Linked DNA regions of Homo sapiens: region 2 is linked to region 1. The links are contacts of gene promoters, found by promoter capture Hi-C in blood cells and fetal thymus (Javierre and others, 2016). All regions are on one chromosome and are shown on one strand. Each heading gives the region's core, a stretch centred on a gene start or on the middle of the fragment in contact. The rest is flanking DNA. Distances are from core to core; before and after follow the strand shown. Region 1 holds the start of HCN3 (hyperpolarization activated cyclic nucleotide gated potassium channel 3). Region 2 holds the start of UBAP2L (ubiquitin associated protein 2 like).

Region 1 (4,006 bases), core at 1,071-3,570:
AATAGATGTGACAGTGTGGTACAGGCACTAGTTGGTATTATGACTCACTCACTCTTTATCCCCAGATTTCTGAAAAGGCTGCTGCTTCCCCCATCTCCAGTTATCTGCCCATTCTAGTCTAGGACCTCATGCCCTCCCCAGCCTTCTCCACCCCATTCCTCTTCTCCAACACAGTTGGACCCACGGATCCTGTTCCTCTGCTGAGGTTTGCTCATCCATGTCTCAGGGTGGGGTGGTCTATCCTGCCTTCCTCTGAATTGAGCTTTCCAGGGATGCCCTTCCCCCTCCACAGAACCTCAAACAGGGCTGCACACACAGAGAAGCTCCACAGGAGATCATGAAGCAGCAAGGCTTGAGTTCTGCATACCTTTCCTCCTCTGGCCTCCCTGTGTCCACTGGGACTCTGGCTGAGCACAGGCAGAGGCATGGGCAGGGGTGAGTGACATTGCTGTGGCAGACACCGTGGAAAGAAGAGGTCAAGAGGGAACTGTGTGAAGCCCTCATTCAGAGAATGGCACAGGAAAATCTCAGGGACTCAGTTACCTATGGTGGTTTTAATTCTAGGACACACCTAATCCCAGTGTCAACTCAGGAGCTAGCCCCTTCTGACTCGGACTGCAAAATCAATTTTCAGCCCTGAAAGAAACTTCCTCAAGTCCGGGCCTCTGGGAAGCCCCTTAGACTGTATGTTTTCAATAAACAAAAACCCTCGGCCATTCTTCTTTTCTCTCCTCGGCTGCTGAGGAGGAATCCTGTATTGTGAGACACTAAGAGAGGGGAGGGAAAGAGGGTTCGCCTAGCCATGAAAGCATCTTCACAGCCTGACTCACAGGTGGGTCACAAGCCTGGCGGGTGATGTAGTATAGAGAATGGAGAAGCACAATCAGAGGGATACCAGGCTTCTGGGGATCCGTCTGCGAGTGAACTGAGGGAAGAGAGTGAGATCCACAGGAGACTAGAAAAGGCGCACTGGCTGGGTGGGAACGAGGCAGCAAAGACAGGAGTGAAAGGAACAATGGGAGGAAGAGAGACATAGAGGGAGTGTGTATATATGTGGATTCAAGATAATGTCTGGGTCTACAACTGTATTTCGAGGCTCCAGATTCACACCTCTTCCTCTCTGCTTCTTTAGTTCCCCAGGTTAGGTGCTTTGCACACATCCCTGCCTCATCCAAGAGCTGTCCTTCATTTCCCCCAAGGACAGGGCTGCTGTCTTCCCCTAGCGACCTTGATGTAGAGGTACACCCTGACGGAGACTGTGAAATGGCCCCACCCCCACCCTCTGTTCCTTCTCTGGGAGTCACCTGGGTGGTGGTCCTGCCCCTGCTTTGCCGCCTCAGTCACTCTGAGTCTCGGCCCCGCCCCGCCGCCCCCGCCTTCAGCACTAGGGACAGCGACCAGAGCTGAGGTCTGGACCCCCCGCCCCCTTCAGCGTCCCTATTTTTCCTGGTAGTCTGTCATGCTGAACTAGGCAGGTGCTAAGGAGCGGGTGTGGGGATGGGAGATGGCGGAGCTCGGCTTCTCCCTCAGACTGGCCCCGATACTTAGAATATAATTTCCTAGATCTCCAGCAAGCAGGACTGGAGGAGGCAGGGGTCCCAAACTCTGGTAGTTCCTTTGGTCCGGATGGGGTCCCGGGTTCCTGAAAGAGGAAATCCAGGTCTCTGGAGATCCCCTGATGTCTGCTTGCCCCTTCTGGTGCCCCCAGCCTGTCCAGGCACGGAGGACCTCCGGCAGGGGATACCCGCCCAGGAATTCCCAGGCTAGACTGGTGCAAGTGACTCTCCCGCCCCACCAAGGGACCCCGGGCTGGAAATGAAGTGACCGTGGAGGGTGGGGCGGGCCGGGTCCCGGTGTCGCTGCCCGCGAGGGTGGGATTGATGTACCCTGCCCTCCCCGCCAAGCCCCCAATACCGGAAGTCGCTGTAGGGGTGGATGATCCAGGCCCCCGCTGACTTCACCCGCTCCTGCTCGATTTCCACTGCTTTGTGGCTGCCGAACACCCGAAGGGAGAACTTGTTGACCGTAGGCTGGAGCAGCGTCCCAAGGTGCCTCCTCTTAGGCTCAGGCCCAGATTTGGGGATCGGACCTGAGGCCGCGGTCGCAGGCGGGGGAGCAACGGGAGGCACCGCCTCCAGTCCAGGGGTCGCCCCTTCGCTGGCCCCCGCCGCCGGCCGCTGCTCTGCCTCCATGGCGCCCACCCCGCTTACACGCTCGGCCTCCTAGAGCCCTCTGTGGCCATCAGGTACCCGCAACCCCTCCAGAGCAGGAGTCGGCGCAGCCCCGCGGGCTCTAGCGGAGGCGTCGTAGGCTCGGAATCGCCGGCGCGCGGGGCGGAGGGGGTGTGTGCTAGACTGGCGGGCGGCGGGCGGGCTGCGCGGCGCCCCCTGGCGAGGGCCGCGCCAAGACCGGGCGGGGCTGGGACGCCGGGATCCTGGAGGAACTCCGAGAGGGGCGTGGCTTAGCAAAGAAGGCGGGGAGCGCAGCCTGAGCCAGGGAGAGGGCGTGGCCTAGCGTTGGCCTTTCATCCACTGAGAACCAGGGAGGAGGAGCCCCCTGCAGTGGCGGGAAAATCGGACGCGGGTTTGTAGCTTGAAGGACTTGGGAGGGAGAGGGATTGGGGACCAATGGAAGAAGTGGAAATGGCTTTTGGGATTCTTCTCCACTCTCGCCCAGGGACTTCTGTCCTGCTCCCGTCTTCTCTCAACACTGTCCTAGGCATATTCTTGTCTTTTGGTCTCCTCCGAACTGCTTCCCCTAGTATTTAATTTCCTAATTCATTCTGTCAGCCTTCACCAAGTGCAACTCTGCCTGTCATTGAGTGGATGCTGAGGAAACAAAAATGAATACAAAAGTCCTAGTCTTAGCATCTCCATGTAGTAATGGAAAACAACACAAAACAAAACAAAAACAAAGGCCTAGCCATAAAGCCACTGCTCATCTGTGCCCAACGACAGACAGGTAAATTGCAGTGCTATGCGAAGTGCTACAAATTCCTAAATATCTCAAATTCTCCCCTTCATCTCCAATTCTTATTACCACTGCCTCATTTCAAGCCCTCAGCATTTTTTCACTTAAATTACTTCGGAAACCTCTAAAAGAGTCTTCAACCTCTTCCAGGCCAATTCTTCTTCCATTCCCTGCCAGTTACCTTCCTAAAATCCAACTATGGCTGTGTCACTTGCTTGAAGCCCATCAAGCTTTCCCATCTTCTACAGGGGTACATTTAAGCTGCTTAGCATGGTGTACCAGGCCCAAAAAATTTGGACCTAGTTTCAACAGTCTCTCTTCTGACAGTCCCTCTCTTGAAAGCCACAGCCCCAATCATGCTGAAAGACTTTGTGCTGCCTTGTCTCTATGCTTTTGCAAATATTTTCTCTGCCTGGTATTCTCCTCCAATTCACTTTCGAACAGTTGGTTCAGATCTTGCTTTCTCTAGGAAACCTAGGAACACATTTCCAACTCTCCTTTCCTCAGGTAGGGTCTATTCTAGAGCTTTTTTACAGCAGCCAGGGCACCACTGTTTTGAGCAACTCATGTCACAGGGCTACCATTATTATTATTATTTTAGAGATGAGGTCACACTATGTTGCCCAGGCTGGTTTTGAACTCAGAGCTCAAGTGATCTTCCTGCCTTGGCTTCCCAAAGTGCTAGGATTACAGGCATGAGCATGGTCTCATTATTTATTTACAGATTTTCTCTCCTGTTAGATTGTGAAACTCTGAGAAACAGGAACCTTGCACCTGGCATAATTCTGGACACATAGTGGACATTCAGTAAATGCTTGTTGAATGAATTAATAATCTAGGAAAATGTTCCAGGAGGTGGAAGTGAAATCTTTACTTCTCTCTCCCCGACTCCTTCATTGATTGCTCTCCATGTTCTATTCCAGGGAACTTCTCTAAACTATGTCTGGTTATCTGATCTAACCTCCATCTGACCATCCTTCATCCAGCTCCTCTCTAATATTTCCTGACTTTATTTATTTACTCATTCTAGAGTCAG
Region 2 (4,006 bases), core at 1,085-3,584, 1.1 Mb after region 1:
GACTAGCTATACACTATTGCATATACTGTACCAGTCAGATGTAAACATATTAAAAAGTCATCTTGAAAGATATAATTAACCAAGAAAGAAAAAAATTCTCCTAATCACTCTTGCTAGTAACATTTCCCTCTTACAAGTGCTTCGAAATGTGACTAAGAAAATTTTTACCACCTAGTAGTGACAACACTGAGCAACAGGTCAAAAGTAAGTGATCTGGAATGGATCACTTGAGGGCACAGAATTAGTAGCAAGCAGACCCATTCCCAGCTATCACACTGGAGATGAAGAATCTTGTTACTTACTTGCTCTTTCTTAGAAAATAAAAAGATTTAAAGGAAGTAGGGTGAGAAGTATTGGAGACCAAGGAAATCGTGCGAGAGTAAACAGAGGTTTCAACACAGGAGTGCCCTTGACTCTTTTTTGAAAACTAGCTACTTAAAAAAATAGCCAGAGAAATTTCACTGAAAAAACTAAATAACAAATATTTATTGAGAATCTACTATGTGTCCAATACTTCAGGAAAATACAAAAGCAGTATGACTTAGTAGCTGCCCTCAGGGAGCTTACAATCTAATTTAAGAAACAATTCAGAAACTGAAGCTAGACTGAGTTGGGTAAAATTTGCTACCTCTAACAGAACAACTAATTTCTGTAGATGCTTTGTTGAAATGGCCCCTGCATCCCCTTCCCCACCACCTTGATATCTAGTTAGTAAGAGTACTTCCCAGTTAGGACATAGCAAGGAGGAGCTTTAAAGATGAAAAACAAAACAGGACATTTTTAGGCCTTTCATCACTAGTTTATGTGCCAGCAATATTTCCCATTCACAAAGGAAACAATCATTGAGATAGTCTAATCTTTAAGGACAATGGTGTCAGATCTCAAAGCAGTTTTATCAACTGATACACAGCCAAAATGTTTTAATTCTCTGTAATCATTGGGATAGTCTAATCTTTAAGTACAATGGAGACAGATCTCAAAGCAGTTTTATCAACTGATACACAGCCAAAATGTTTTAATTCTCTAGAAACGCTGGTTACTAGTAATGTCCATCACCTCCCAGCAAGTCACATCAGGTATCCCCAAAACAGGATATGCGGCGGAGGAAGGTAGGATGGGAGAGAAGACAAAAAAAAAGGATTTCTCCATTTAATAATCAGGGAGAGTCAAAGGCAAAAACGTTAACAATAATAACAAAAACGCCTGTTACTGTGGTGTTTTTCTTTCCACAACATCCTACACCAGAGGTGGCTACATTTCAAGAATGGTGGAAAAGGAGCAGTCTCCAGTTTGTGACATCAGTTTGCAAAGCAATTTAAGGGCTGTCCACAAGGTTAAGGGTTTGAAGAAACTGGGCATTCCTGTACCATTATGAGAAGAGTGAACAAATACCCCAGTGCTCTAGTGACGTCCCTTAAGCGTAAATACACCCTATGGGGGCCTCCATGTCCAGCTTCCCAAATAACACAATTGTTTGGGGTACCCAAACTACAGTATAAACAGGAAGCTAAAGACAGCAGCAAAAACATATTCCAAGAACTGGGTTGGTGAGAAAGAAGGGAGGGTAATAAGAGGAGCTGACAAAGAGCCTGGAAACGGAGAGGGGACGCAAGCCCACGGGTGGAGGATGGGAGGCTCACCCCCCTCAGCGCCACATCGAGAGCCCACGGGGCCAATCTCCTCCCTACCTCCCAGCCGGAACAAATTAATCCTTCGCACACCAAACTGAGGGCCACATGGGGGAGTTTGGGGGAGCTCCACCCCATCGCCCTCCCTCCCCCACGCCACCCCCAAACCAGGCCGGATCCGGATCAGAGGAGGCCCGCAGTGGGTGGAAAGGGAGGAGGCCCTCTCCTCCGCAGGCACCGGCCGGGGTGAAGAGAGAGCCCTACCTCAGGCAAGGCCCAGGCCTCGCTCGCTCGCGCTCTTTCTCGCTCTCCCCTCTCAGGCTCTAGCCGCATGGCCCCCCCTTCCTACGGCTGCTCCAAGCCCCGCCCCGGCCACGCTCCCAAATCGAGGCCCCGGCTCTGGCGCGGCCCACTAGGCCGCGAACCCAACCATAAACAAAACCTCCGGGGGCCGACTCGAGGTGGGGGGCGCCAGGGCTCGCATGACTCGGGGGGGGGTGTACAGTGGGGGAACACACGGTGTGGGGGGGCCTACCGAGGGAGGGGATACGGCGGGGGCAGGGGAGAAAAGAGGGAGGGTAAAAGGGGGATCGCGGATTTAAAGGGGCCGCGGACAATACCCGGCCCCGCCGCGCTGCCGCTGCCGCCGCCGCCGCCGCCAACGCCGCTGCGCTCCCAACTTTACCTCAGTCTCCTCCACACTGACACCCCGGGCCGCGCCGCCCCTGTCACGTGATATAAGATTCCCTCTTCCCCACCCCCTCCCTCCTTTTCCCTCTCGCGCTCGCTCTCGCGCCTTCCCCCGCCCACTTGCCTTCCTGCGTCCCTCAGCGCGTGACGCTAAAAGGGGCGCGCACGCAAGCGTGCGCGTGCCGCCTCGCCACGAGACACCTCTTTCCGGCTCCGCGAGTCCACCCCGCCTCCTTCACGGCGGCCCTGCCTCCACCACGTGACGCACGGATGGCCGCCGCTTCCTCTTACTGTCGTAGTTCCGCGTCTGAGCGCTCGACGCTCCTGGGTGCCATTGCCTGCCTGAGTCACGTGTCAGGGGGAAGCTGGAAGGCGTCGTTCTCCTTTCCCAGCTCTCCTGCCTGTCCGCCATGTTTTCAGGCCGGGTCTGGCTTGGTCTTCCCCCGTAAGGAAATGGCCGGGGAGCTCCAGGGGACCCAGGCGCCGTCGCTTCGGCGGAGCCTGGGCTGACCAGCCAGGACAGCGGGGTAAACCCGAACAATTCTGCGCGAGGTAGGGAGGCCATGGCGTCCGGCAGTAACTGGCTCTCCGGGGTGAATGTCGTGCTGGTGATGGCCTACGGGAGCCTGGTGAGGAGATTACCCCACCCCATTCCTGCTGTCGCATCTTACCCAGTAGAGACCCTCCTTTTGAGCTGTACCCCGTCTGCATTCTCCACCCACTCACCTGCGCCTATCCGGGCTTTGACTCCTTATTCCAGGAGTAGGTGGGAGTTTAAGTCACTTAGTCGGGCCGACCCGCCCTCGTTAGTCTAGAACCCTCCCTTTAACGCTAGAGCACAGACCCCACGCCTCCCTGCTGCTGGCTTCTTAGATCCACCCCCATCATAACGGCCTTGCTTTGCCCCAAGTTTTACCCTGAAACATTCCTGAGAGCCGGAATCTGGGGATTTGGAATGAAGGCATGCTTTTTTAAAAAAAAAACAAAACAAAACTGACTTTTTATTAAAGGATTTTTACATCTTTTTGGACAGGTGTTTGTACTGCTATTTATTTTTGTGAAGAGGCAAATCATGCGCTTTGCAATGAAATCTCGAAGGGGACCTCATGTCCCTGTGGGACACAATGCCCCCAAGGTAGGTCCTTAGGGCACAAGTTAAACATACTTCTCCAGATCTTTTAGGGTCAAGAATGAGATTTCCTCTGCCTTTAGTGATGACTTTAATTCTCATGTTTCTTTGCGTGCACTTGTCCTTGTACTTACTAAGTTGAGCAGGCACTGTGCGCTTTGGAACTTGGCTTACCTGCTCAGTGCTGTGGCAAGCATGTGGCTCATCCTGGAACTTCTGTTTTTGTATCTGCAGAATGAAGGGCTTGGGTCGAAGTTCCCAACTGTTTGTAGTAAAATATTTCCCAGCTCATCTTAAACTACCCAGTGTTTTTTGTTTGATTAGGATGGGGTTGAGATCATTAAGGTTAACCCAAGAGCAATGAGAAGGGTTACCTTTACATAATTTTAGACTTAAGAGGAGCTCCATAAATCATCTAATTCCACCATTCATGTTACCAAGAAGCCCAAGAAAAGGAGGCAGTTTACCAGAAGACGTATAGGAAGTGAATAACCCAGTGGTCTTTTATCTTTGTCTGTACTTTCTCCTTAGGTGACTGTCTTCCTTTCCTTGGCTTTAG

What was found. Contacts are between HindIII fragments. The CHiCAGO score rates a contact against its expected background, and 5 or more counts as called.
Region 2: a contact is called between the fragment with the promoter of UBAP2L here and the fragment with the promoter of HCN3 in region 1, in 1 of 17 cell types (neutrophils). The highest score is 5.3, in neutrophils.

What each region holds. Positions count from the first base shown.
Region 1 is chr1:155,275,777-155,279,782 of GRCh38, reverse strand. It overlaps HCN3 (hyperpolarization activated cyclic nucleotide gated potassium channel 3), which reads right to left and starts at 2,320. Exons shown (of 8, transcript NM_020897.3): 1 at 1,915-2,320. The coding sequence starts at 2,192. The HindIII fragment of the contact is 9,883 bases long and covers 1-3,202 here.
Region 2 is chr1:154,219,283-154,223,288 of GRCh38, reverse strand. It overlaps UBAP2L (ubiquitin associated protein 2 like), which reads right to left and starts at 2,334. Exons shown (of 27, transcript NM_014847.4): 1 at 2,314-2,334. It overlaps LTAP1 (lipid transport auxiliary protein 1), which reads left to right and starts at 2,699. Exons shown (of 7, transcript NM_001098616.3): 1 at 2,699-2,947; 2 at 3,352-3,453. The coding sequence starts at 2,882. RefSeq lists silencers at 2,161-2,310, 3,171-3,240 and enhancers at 1,831-2,578, 2,561-3,000, 2,579-3,326. The HindIII fragment of the contact is 10,463 bases long and covers 1-4,006 here.